Regions from separate parts of the Homo sapiens genome. Here region 1 is linked to region 2. The links are contacts of gene promoters, found by promoter capture Hi-C in blood cells and fetal thymus (Javierre and others, 2016). All regions are on one chromosome and are shown on one strand. Each heading gives the region's core, a stretch centred on a gene start or on the middle of the fragment in contact. The rest is flanking DNA. Distances are from core to core; before and after follow the strand shown. Region 1 holds the start of ANPEP (alanyl aminopeptidase, membrane). Region 2 overlaps IDH2 (isocitrate dehydrogenase (NADP(+)) 2).

Evidence for each region. The method cuts DNA at HindIII sites, captures the fragments that hold promoters and counts their contacts. A CHiCAGO score of 5 or more calls a contact.
Region 1: the fragment with the promoter of ANPEP here is called in contact with a fragment that was not itself captured in region 2 in 2 of 17 cell types (neutrophils and monocytes); the score reaches 6.3 in neutrophils.

Annotation. Positions count from the first base shown.
Region 1 is chr15:89,810,521-89,816,553 of GRCh38, forward strand. It overlaps ANPEP (alanyl aminopeptidase, membrane), which reads right to left and starts at 4,332. Exons shown (of 21, transcript NM_001150.3): 1 at 4,252-4,332. RefSeq lists an enhancer at 3,901-4,400, promoters at 4,268-5,422, 4,268-4,756 and cis regulatory regions at 4,371-4,376, 4,628-4,756, 4,664-4,667, 4,666-4,695, 4,713-4,715. The HindIII fragment of the contact is 11,363 bases long and covers 409-6,033 here.
Region 2 is chr15:90,080,823-90,086,886 of GRCh38, forward strand. IDH2 (isocitrate dehydrogenase (NADP(+)) 2) reads right to left here. Exons shown (of 11, transcript NM_002168.4): 8 at 4,453-4,565; 9 at 4,179-4,276; 10 at 3,994-4,086; 11 at 2,223-3,531. The coding sequence ends at 3,444. ZNF710 (zinc finger protein 710) reads left to right here. Exons shown (of 5, transcript NM_198526.4): 5 at 1-1,369. It overlaps ZNF710-AS1 (ZNF710 antisense RNA 1), which reads right to left and starts at 1,385. Exons shown (of 2, transcript NR_146321.1): 1 at 617-1,385. RefSeq lists enhancers at 3,156-3,656, 3,657-4,157. The HindIII fragment of the contact is 2,375 bases long and covers 2,628-5,002 here.

The sequences.
Region 1 (6,033 bases), core at 3,082-5,581, 270 kb before region 2:
AGATCGTGCCACTACACTCCAGTCTGGACGACAACAGAACGAGACTCTGTTTCAAAAAAGAAAAAAAAAAAAGAAAAAGAAAAATGCTACCAGTGTGTTCAAAAGCCTGCTGCTGCACCCAAGCACCTCAAAGGAAGGCCTGGTGGCATCGTATGCCCCTCCATGCCCAGCACAAGGCAGGAGCCCAATACATGTTGGCCAAATGAATGACAACACCCACAGTCCTTGCCGTGACCTACAGGGCCTGTGTGATCCAGCCCCCAGTGATTCTCTGGCCTCATCTCAAACGCTCTCCCCTGTCACTTCTGTGCTCCACCCCAGTGGCCTCTTTCAGTTCAAATCCAACCTGCTTTTCCCCGCTTCATTCTCCCTTCCTCCCTACACACAAGCTGATCCTTGGGCCTGGAAAGCTTCCTGCCTTTGCTTCATCCACTCCCCACTTGCCCTGGAGACACAAGTCAGTGGTGCTGCCCCCAGGCAGCCCTCCAAGTGCCTCCATGAGGGTAGCACCAGGTGTGCCGTATCCTCTACACCTGGCGTGCAGTGGGAGGGCAACACGTGCTTGTGGAATGGGGCATCAGTGCAAGAATGAGAGACAGCAGTTAAGGATGGAACTTCAGAGCCTTGATCCTCGGGACAGGTTCCACCCTCTCTACCCGACATTCCTTCCTGGGCTTCTGGGCTGTGCACAAACCACCTTCGTGATCCACCTTTGTGATTATTTACTTCGTATTTTTCTTTAAATCAATTCACTTTCTTAGCCTCCTTCTGAGCGATAAAATCATGGTTGGATGTGTTAATTTATATTAACAATTCATGACTATTGGTTTAAAAATTGTTCCTGGGCCGGGCGTGTTGGCTCATGCTTGTAATCCCTGCACTTCGGGAGGCTGAGGCGGACGGATCACGAGGTCAGCAGATCGAGACCATCCTGGCTAACACGGTGAAACCTCATCTCTACTAAAAATACAAAAAATTAGCCGGGCGTGGTGGTGGGCGCCTGTAATCCCAACTACTCGGGAGGCTGAGGCAGGAGAATGGCATGAACCCGGGAGGCGGAGGTTGCAGTGGGCCGAAATCGTGCCACTGCACTCCAGCCTGGGCGACAGAGTGAGACTCCATCTCAAGTAAAAAAAAAAAAAAAAAGAAAAAAAGAAAAAATTGTTCCTCTAGGTAGCTCCTAAAAGGATCCTGTCCAGTTGCACCCGCTTTGGGAACTGCTGCTCCACCCTGTATGATGTTGGGGTTGCTGGCCCTGCGGGTTGTCTTTGGTGCAGGCTCTTTCTGCCAGTGAGCAAAATGCATGTGTTCCTTTCGCTGTGAATTTCTTGACGGGGTAGAAGCCGAGCTCTCAACCCACTTCAACTAAAGCAGCCTTTCTATGGGTTTATGTATTTCTTCCCTGCCTATGTTTTAGTCCAGAAAACGTAAGTTCTTCTAAACTAAAACCAAAGCCAAAACCAAAAAACATGAAGGTTGACAACGATCATGCCAGGGCATAACTAAGTCACAGTCACAGTGTGGAAGACACCCACACTTGTGGGTGGGGAGAGGCTCCTTGGTCTCAGATGTGAAGTGCAAGAGGCTTTCTACTCTAATATGAAGACTCCAGGAGCCTGGGAGGGGCTGTGGCCGGGAGAGCTGAGCACCCGTGGCCGGGTGAGCTGCTGTGTTATCCATGCTCCATCCCCGACCACTGGGTCCTTGGGTAGGCCCCACCCACTCCCACTCAGTGTCCCTGACTGTGAACTATGAGACTGGGAGCTCAGGGACAACCTGGGGCTCATTGTCTGCTCTGAGGGAGCAGTGAGCGAGAAGGGTAGGGACGAGGCTGGGCCTGGGCCAGGGCACACTCTGTCCCCGCAGGCCCCTGGCTTTCTCCCAGGCTTCTGAGGCCTCCGCCCATAGCTGCATCACCCCAGGGTGCTTCCTCTGGGAGCCTTGGACATTGCCCCTCCTGCAAGAACCTCAGAAGGCCCCAATGGGAAGTTGCCTCTCATCAGCCTCTTCAGCCCAATGCAGGGCACACAGGAGGAAGGAGCAGAGGCATTTGTGGGTGGGGGAAGTACACATAGGGTTTGTGTGGGGCCACAGATCCTGCCTGGCAACTCCTGTCTGCCAAATGGGGGGTGATTATCCTGGTGAGACACATGGTAGGTGAAACTGAGCACCTACTATGTGCCCTACCAGGATAATCACCCCCATTTGGCAAATGAGGACACTGAGGCACAGAAAGGTTAAGTGATTTGCCCAAGGCCACACAGCTAGTTAGCAGCAGGTTCCACAGCTTAACTACATATGCCTCCTAAAAATGTCCTCCCATACAGCCCCTCACATCTACTGTGGCCGTGCCAAGGGGAGTTGAAGACCACAGGAGAAGACACGCACCCATTTGGCCAGACCAGGGCTGGGAGCTGGGGGTAGTTCTCAGAAGTAGAACTTGTTAGCCAGGGAGTGCTGGGGGCTGCTTCCAGACACAGGCCTGTGGAGGACCCACATCTTGCCTCCAAGGTGTGACTGGGACCACTGTAGGGCCAGGAGTGACAGGCACCCGGGGTGAAGCCCGGGCTAGGGATAGATGGCTGCCAGCCTATGTGAATAAGGACACCCCAGGGCCTCGGTGTGCGGCTGACACACTGTCCATGCCATGCCTCCAGGGCTGTCCAGGAGCCCCAGCATAGGGTTCCAGATCTCCCACCAGAGCCAGCCCAGGAACTGGACCCAGTTCCAACACCTTGGCTCCTTCCGACATGGGGACCCCCATCTATGTCCTCAGAATGCCTAGCATACAATTCTTACAGCGATGGGGCTGGAGGCCTTAGCTTAAAGGCTGTAGGGGTGTAAGGAGCGCCAGCGTGTAACGAAGGTCTCATTCCCCAGAAGGCTCTGGGGGAAGCACAGGGCAGGCGGCTGGGCTGCCTCAAGACACTGGGCCGGTTTCCCCACCTGTGAAGCGGGAGCAGCGCTGTGGGTGGCCTCCTTGCACTCATAGTGTGGCCTTCGAGGCTAGGGCTCCACAGGAAGGTGGCTGAGAGTGGATGAGGGCCTCATGGGCCCAGCACACCCTCCCACAGGGAGAGGGGAGTCCACCCTCTTCCCTGCCCAGCTCCCCCATACCCACTGGGGCTAGCCAGCCTTCCTGTGGGACAGAGGCTGTCCCCACTTCCTCCTGGTCACCCCTACCCCACACGCCCACCTCCCCTCCACAAAACACATACCCTGAGGGGCCCTCTGGTCCAAGCCTCCCCTTTCACAGGTGAATTAACTGAGGCCCAGTAAGGCCAGGGCGTTTAGAGACTCAGGGATGAAGCCACATCAGACCTCAGGTCTGGCTGAGACCAGGGCTCTGACCACCCCCGAACACGGCCTGGTGGGTTGCAGTCCAGGGGCTGAGGTGGGGGAGGAGTGGGGATCCAGTCACAAAACCCCAGGACATAGCCCACCTGGGCCGTCCCTGCCCACCGCACTGCTGGGGGGGGGGGGTGCGTTCTGGAGTCATTTGGGGAAAGGATCCCATTGGCCCTGTTTAGGGGACCTTTTCCCAGACCAAGAGTGGATTGCAATGGGGCCCTGGATCTGTCTCAGTTGCTCACCAGGGAGGGCGTGGAATAGGCTCCACAACCCCCAAACCTCGGTCCCCATCCATGCCCCGGCATCTTGGCCGGGTTGTAGGAGCGAGGGAGAACGCGACTGTAACGCGGGCGTTGAGCACCTAGAGTTCCCCTTCCTCTTCACTGAGAGCTGCGGCGGAGGCTTTAGACCGAGGAGCGAGATCTAAGGTTAAAGAAAGGGCCTCTGAGCCCAGTGTTGGCCAGAGACCCCACAGGCGGGCCGGGTTCGCCCTTTGCCTTCGGCCGCGCCCCACCCACCAGGGACAGAGTGGCCGCGGCCGAGCCGGGTCCACCCGCCGCAGCTTAGCTCCGCTCCGCCGCCCTCCCCGTCCGTCCTCCCCAGGCTCCCGTCGCCCTCGCCCACCCTGGGGCCCCCTCCCCAGATGGGAGCCCCTCCGACCCCTGCGAGGCCCGCTGGGGACCCACTTGACCGCGAGATCGTAGTGGGAGCTCGGCCAAAAGAATTCTTCGCTTTCCCTGGCCCTCAGTTTACCCATCTGGGAAGAGGGGCGTCGCGGCCGCAGAAGTCCAGCTCCGCACGCGCCAAGCGCTGGGTCTGCAGCTCCCTCGGTTCCCGCGCACCCAACTGCCCCACGACCCCTACCCGCGCCCGCAGCCCCCGCCCTCCCGCCCCACTTGCCTGGGCCGCCGGGCGCTGGAACCTGGACCCTGGACCCTGGCGGGTTCCGAGCTGCGCCGCCGCCGTCCCTGCCCCTCCAGCACTGGACTCCTCCTTTCCCGTCTTTTTAAAGGGAAGTAACCGGACCCGACCACTACTCCACCCGATTCACCCCTAGCGGGCCGCCCGCCCGCAGCTCCGCCCGGGCTCCTCCCCCGTCCGCCCGCGGCTTCCCGGGAGCCCCCCAGGGCTCCTCCGCTCCTCCGACGGCCCGGCCTTCCCCCCGGGGCCTGGGATGCACCAGGGCTCCTGCTGCCCCCGACGGGGTCCCTGTCGCCGCAGCCCGCGGGACCCGCCGGCCACATCTGGACGGCATCTGCCGCGGGGGAGGGGCTCAGAGCCTCGCCCTGAGTGTCCCGCAGGGAGCCTTGTGCATCCGGGGCAGGAAGCCAGCGCATCCCGTGCAGACGGGTGGTGCAGATAACGGACCCGCCACAGCACGCAATTCAACTTTCTTGGTACCTGGGACTCGTAGTTCAGAAGGCGCAGTAGCACGACCTTGCGAAAAAGCACCGGAGTCGGGAACACGCGCTTCTCATTTTTTTCTTTTTCCTTTATTTGTTTTTGAGACAGAGTCTCGCTCTGTCGCTCACGCTGGAGTGCAGTGGCACTTTCTCCGCTCACTGCAACTTCCTCCTCCTGGGTTCAAGCGATTCTCCTGCCTCAGCCTCCCGAGTAGCTGGGACTACAGGTGCACGCCACCACGCCTGGTTAATTTTTGGAGTTTTAGTAGAGACAGGGTTTCACCATGTAAGGCTCGTCTCGAACTCCTGACCTCAAGTGATCCGCCCGCCTTGGCCTCCCAAAGTGCTGAGATTACAGGAGTGAGCCACCACACCTGGCCTGCGCCTCTCATCTTGATCCTGCTTGCAGAGGTTGTGCAGCCACCGGAGCCCCGCCAGGGTGGGGCTCCCTGTCTCTGAGCAGCTTTAATGGGCGGTACCAGATAATATTTGTATTGGTTCCCTGTGGCTGCCGTAACACAAACATAAAACAACACTAATTTACTATCTTACAAGTTTTGTAAAATCAGAAGTCCAAAATGGGTCTCGCTGGACTAAAAGCAAGGGGGTTGAGGGATACAGCTTTCTTGAGGCTGGAAGGGAACCTGTTTCTTTGGCTTTTCTGGCTTCTAGAAGCTGCCCACATTCCTTGGCTGGTGGCCCCATCCATCTTCAAAGCCAGCAGTGGCCCACCAGTCTCTCACAATCTGTCACTCTGACACCAACTGTTCTGCCTCTTGCTTCCACTGGTGAGCATCTTTGTGATTACATCGGGCCTACCCAGATAATCCAGGGTAATCTTTCTATTTTAAATCAATGGATTGGCAACTTGAATTCCACCTGCAACTGTAATTTCCCTTCGTGGGGTAGCATAACATATTCACAGATTCTGGGCATTAGAACCAGGGCATCTTTTGAGGAGGAGGATATGATTATGTCTACCACAATATTCAAGCTGACTTCCAGACTTTCAGATTTATAATCAAATTTAAGCTCTTCCTTATCCATGATTGGAATCCTTGGGACAGTTAAAGCCTTGCACTGCATGGTCCAAATTGATGGCTTTGTGACTGGCTGTGTTTTATTATTTTACTTGCACTTGCTCTTCTTTTGGAAACTTCATGGAGGACCAGGGTACCTCTAGGTAGCAGCCTTGCTTCTCCTTCCTAATTTGCTCTGTACTCTTAAAAACCAGGTCACAAACATATCGGAATATAGAATTGTGTGTAAAGTAAGAGTA
Region 2 (6,064 bases), core at 2,565-5,064:
ATCAAGGGTTTTTTTGAGCAAAGGGGGTCTTCTGAAGGTAACTTATTATTTTTTTCTTTCCAACTGTGTGTCACCTATGACCTTTTCTGATGGAGATGCATTTTCTTTTTCCAAGCGTAAGCTTCCTAATGTGCTGTGCGTGCTTCCTACCCACCCACCCCGAGCAGCCTGGCCGGGCAGGACTGGGGCTCCATGGGGACTGTCACCCTGGCCCTGGAGGTGCAGCCGCTGGCAGCAGCCTCAGCAGGCTGGGGTGGGAGGCAGGAGAAGGCAGAGCTGGGAAGCCCTCCACCCCTGCCTGGCTCCTGCAGTCGCTGACTTGCTCTGTCCCATGTCCCATCCTCGGCTGTCAGGGCTGCTGACTCTGCTCAGCCAACAGCTAGCTCCCTCGCTCGCCTGCTCTCTTCCCCTCTGTTCCCACGCCAGCTCCTGCCCCTGGAACCAGAGATGACAGGCCCAGGGCAGTGAAATAGCACATTCAGGAACTCTAGGGCACCCGGACCCCCCCACCCACTTGCCTCCTGAGGCCTCAGTGGGGAGGGGCAAGCAGGGGTCTTCCCCAAAGGCACAGATGAAGCCACTAGCTTCAGCCTAGAAACCCGGAGAAGGGAACAGCCTGCGGTGGGAGGAACCAATCTGCAGCGCAGCCACCCCCAAGGCTGGATCCTTAAGTGAAGGACCAAGCCAGGCCTCAGGGTGACTGTGATCAGGACTGAGGGGTGGACAAGGTGGCCCAAGTATGGCTTCCAGACCCCGAAGCCCCACGACCTCCCAGGTGCCCGCCATGATGACCCTCAGGTGGCAGTGACCCCGTCACTGTATAAGACATTTTCTCCTGCTGAGCAGAAGGCATCATCCCCTGCAACTACCTCTTCCCACGTCTTTCTCCCCTGGTACCAAAAAGAACCCTGTACCTCTCCTCCTCCTCCTCCCTCCTGCCAGTGCAGTGGCCTTGGTCTTGGAAACTGAAGGGAGAAGGTCTGGCCCCCAGGGTGGGGCTCTCCTTTCCCTCCCCCAGCCCCGCCGTCAGCACTGGCCCTCTGTGAGGTTCGATACTTGAACGCCCCCTGCCCTGTGCCTTGGACCTGGGCAAAGCTAGGAGGAGGAAACAGCACAACTCACAGTTTGAGCTGGGGGGTGGTCTTGGCAAGGCTCCTGTCTGTACCCCTCCCTAACCTTCTCAAAAGAGGTGCACAGCCTCTCGGGTGACTTGGAAACTCCTGGACAAATTCCATTCTAACTTATTTTGACATGTATACAAACCAACTGTTTAGAGATTCCACTTGTGCAAAGCCCTACTGTGTTTTTATGTTCCTGTTTAAAAGAGAAGTTTACTTAGCAATAATTATAAATAAATGAATATTCTTTAGTGAGGTGACTGCAAATGCTTCTTTCCCCAGCTCTTGGGGACCTGGCCCTCACTCCCAGCAGGAACTCCCAGCAAAACTTCCCAGCCCCACACAGCAGGGCTGCACTCTCCCAGGGCCCGGGGGAGGCTGAGACCATCCTCTGCACTGGAATGGCCCCCTGCAGGGCCAGGCGCCTATAGCCAGCTGCCCCGGGCCCAAGAGAGTGGTGTGGGCCACGGCCCCTGTATTCCCACCACTTGCAGAGAAAAGCTGCTTCCCCTCCCTACCCACCCACATGGCTTCAGGAAAGAAGCCAGCTCCCGATGCCAGGCTGGGCTTCAGAGGCTGCGTTCTGCAGAGCTGCCAGCCCCGTGCTGGTGACAGGCAAGAAGAGGCAGGAAGCCTTGAGCTTCCTCCCAGGGGCTGGGCCTGCTAGAGCCAGCAGTCCACGTTTCTTCTTATAGCCCTGAGAGTTTCAGGGCATTACTCAGGAAAAGCAAGCGGGGGGTCACCAGTGTGGATGGAGGGCTAGAGCCCTTCCAAAGCCACTCAGTCTACCGCAATGGTCGGGTTTCAGGAGCCATAGGAGTCCCCCCAGTATTTAGGAAAGGGACTTTGTAAGATGGGGTTTTGAGAGATGGGGTCTCACTCTGTTACTCAGGCTGGAGTACAGTGGTGCAGTCATAGCTCACTACAGCCTCAAACTCCCGGGCTCAAGTGATCCTCCCACCTTGGCCTCCCAAAGTGCTGGGACTATAGGCATGAGCCACCACACCTGGCCAGGACTTTATAAAGATTATACAACTCTTCTCCAGGACATTTTAACACCAAAAAGAAGAAGCTTTGCAGAACTTACTATGCAGAGGACAGTCCTTTTGATTATATGTAGCTTTAGAGCAACTTTTATTTTTCCTTTTTACATGGGGCTAAAAAACTTGCATAGAGCAATTTTTTTTTTTTTTTTTTTTTTTTTTTTTTTGAGACAGAGTCTTGCTCTGTCACCCAGGCTGGAGTGCAGTGGTGCAGTCTCGGCTCACTGCAACCTCTGCCTCCCAGGTTCAAGCCATTTTCCTGCCTCAGCCTCCCGAGTAGCTGGGACTGCAGGTGCGCATCACCACGCCTGGCTAATTTTTGTATTTTGAGTAGAGATGGGGTTTCACCATGTTGGCCAGGCTGGTCTCGAACTCCTGGCCTCAAGTGATCCACCCACCTCAGCCTCCCAAAGTACAGGGATTATAGGCGTGCGCCACTGTGCCCGGCCGAGAACAATTTGTCACAAGCTTACTTTTCTAGTTTTGCCAATGCATGGTGAAAGTGAACCCAAGCCTGGGAACTGCAGGCCTAGACAATGCAGGGCCCTTGTTCACACACACCCAAGCCCCTCCAAACTCAGGCAGCCTTGGAAAGGAGAAGTGTGAGGCAGGTGTGGGTAGGACCTCTTTTTAGTACCTAGAAAAAGGCTAAGAAAGTGGCCTGGAGATGTTTAGAAGGTTAAAACCAACGAAGAAAAAAATCAATGACAACCTATCAGGAACTGATTGACTCTCAGAATGGAGAACTGGACACAGAAACTGGATCATGCTAGAAAATTCCAGGGAACCCACAGGCCTGTGCCCTGAGTGTCCGAGAACTCCGCAGTGGGCCCCTGTGGAATGCGGGCTCCCAGGGCTGCCTGGTCCCTTCCCTGCCGTGGCAGCCCCTTCCTGAGGTGCTCTGGTCTGCCCCAGGGGAACCTGCCAGCTCTAGCAGGGCCTCTGCCTCAGGGTCCCACTACCTCCTCCCCTCAGGGACAAACACAGCAGACAATTTTGTGAAGAGCTTTTTAGTAGCTAAATATGGCACCATGTGTTCCAAGGGCAATATAAATTACAGTATGCAAAACATACTGACTGGCTGAGGTAAAACGCACTGCTCCTGCCTCACGTCACCATGAGGGGAAACACACATATGCTTTTAAAAACATCTGGCTTATAAAAAAACATCCCCTAGAAAGGCCTCCAGAGAGGGGCTGTGAGGCTCACCCTCTGCCGCGCTCAGGAGGACCCGCCGGCTCAGCCCTGGCCCCTCCACTGCAGCCATGGGTGGCGCCTCCCCCTACTGCCTGCCCAGGGCTCTGTCCAGGTTGCTCTTGATGGTGTCGAGGAAGTCCGTGGTGTTCAGGAAGTGCTCGTTCAGCTTCACACTGCAGAGAGAGCACCACTCACATCAGGGGTGGCTCCAGGCCTTGCCAAGGCCATCAGCCAGGCCCTTCCAGGGAACAGCCTGAGCTTGGGCATCAGAACAGCCATCTCCTGCCACCCAGACTACAGGCCAGAGGCCAGCTATAGCCCCCTACCATGAGGCCACCGAGATTCGGCAGGCACCCGCAGGGTCTGTCTTGCCAGGTAACTGCTCTCCTGAGAGAAGCTGGGAAAGGGGTGTGGGCAGGGTCGGAAGGAGCTCTGAGTAGCCAGCCTCAGGGATGGGGAGGAACTCACTAGACCTGGTCTACAGAGGCTGGCCTGAGCAGTCTCTCAGGGCTGTGGACATGTCCTGCCCCAGGCCCCCTTGCAGCTAAGCTGACTCATGAGGGGGACTTTAGGAGGGGTCCCCTGGCTTCCTCCCACATGGCCCCAGGGTCTGCCTACCACCCCAGGCCACGCACTTGCTGAGGCCGTGAATGCAGCCCGCCAGGTCCTTGGTCATGGCTCCACTCTCCACCGTCTCCACGCACACCTTCTCCAGCATCTGGGCAAACCTATGGGGATGGGGCAGAATGAGACCCCATCTGTGCAAGGGCAGGACCCAGAGCCTGTCCTGGGCAGCTCCGGCCTCTCCCTCCATGCTCACCTGATGAGGTCTTGGTTCCCATCCAGCTTCCCCCGGTGCTCCAGGCCACGTGTCCAGGCAAAGATGCTGGCGATGGGGTTGGTGCTGGTGGGCCGGCCCTGGGGACGGGGGTTGCAGGGAGATCAAGAGCCGAGCCAGCTAGTGAGGAGGCTGCCCAGATACAGCTGCCCGCCCCTGGGCTGGTGGGTCAGGCTCGTCCTTCCAGCCCTCAGCCCAGTGGGCTTTAGGCCCCTGGGGTAGAGGGGCATTGTGAGGCCCCATGCCCTGCACTCACCTTCTGGTGCTCCCGATAGTGGCGGGTGACGGTCCCATGAGCGGCCTCAGCCTCAATCGTCTTCCCATCAGGGCAGACCAGGACGGACGTCATCAGGCCAAGGGAGCCAAAGCCTGGAGGGTAGAAAGCCTTTCTCTCAGGGCCTCGCCTCTCCTGGGGCCACCCAGCTGAGCCCTGCTGCCCTCTACAACCCAATATTGTAGCTGCCATAGTTCGTGGCTCTACTCAGCCTCCCCCAGCTGCAACTGGGAGGACAGGGACTGTTCCAGGTCTCTTCACCCTCCTGTGGGTCTCCAGGGCCCAGCACAGGGCTGGAGGGCACTGGAGGGTGGCTATCACCAGCACATTAACATCCATCTGTGTCACCAGCTCCAGGCGCCCCACAGCCTGTGGCCCACAGGGCCCAAGAGGCCACAGAGTCCTGTGGTCCCCCACAGCCTGCCACCCAGCCTGGCTCGTGACCCGGAGGCACATTCAAGGAAAACAATAAAGCTGTGGTCAGCTATTTCCCAACAATCACTTTTGCAGCTACTCTCTTAGGCCACTTTCAAGCTTTTTGATTAATTTCTGAATGCTCCCAAATCCACATGTCAACTCCAGCAAGCTTTTCTATTGTCAAGGACTCCAGGGCTTCAAAGGCACCCCCATGACACCAAAATAAGGATTGAAGAAAGAAAACATGGACAACATCTACAGGAAAATGCTTTGTCTATGAATTCTAAGAATTTTGGCTGTAAGCAATCCCTTCTCCATTTTACCTGCACCTTCACACCATTCCTTAGACACTTAAGGTTCATTTTCATGCCTCTGCCTCATCTGCTATGGCGTTTCATCCTTCTATCCTAGATGGGAATTGTTCGGTGAGAGGATCCCCACTGAACTTTCCAAAGTAAAGCCAAAGGTTTACACAAAGTAACAAGACTCTGCTTTTCATCAGAACCCGTCCTGGGCTTCCCTTTTCCCCATACCAGGAGCTGCCCTGGTAAGCTTAGGTTTCTCTTTCACTCTCTATGTCCTGCCTGTTTCCCACACCTACCACCTTTCCTGCTCTTGTTCCCAACACAATTGGCCCATTTCTCGCTGTTCTTCTCTAATGGTCTCACCTATACTTTATTTTTTATTTTTTATTTTTTTTGGAGACGGAGTTTCACCCTTGTTGCCCAGGCTGGAGTGCAATGGCGCAATCTCGGCTCACTGCAACCTCCACCTCCTGGGTTCAAGAGATTCTCCTGCCTCAGCCTCTCAAGTAGCTGGGATTACAGGTGTCCATGACTGTGCCCGCCTCCATGCCCAGCTAAATTTTTTTGCATTTTTAGTAGAGACGGGGTTTCGTCATGTTGGCCACGCTGGTCTCAAACTCCTGACCTCATCACCTATACTTTTTACTGCAATCTGATTTGTCTTTTAGGACACCCTAGGGCTTGGGGGTTTGCAGGCTTCCCCAACATTCTCTTCCATCCATTAGGTTCACTATGCAAAATGCATTCGCTGTAGTTTAAAGAACCTCCAGTCCCGCTTGATCCCATTTTCCTACTGGAACCAAAGAGTCATGAGGCTCCATCATGGACTGGAGCAACCTTAGGGCTGTCAACCTAGCCCTGGAATTCCTGTG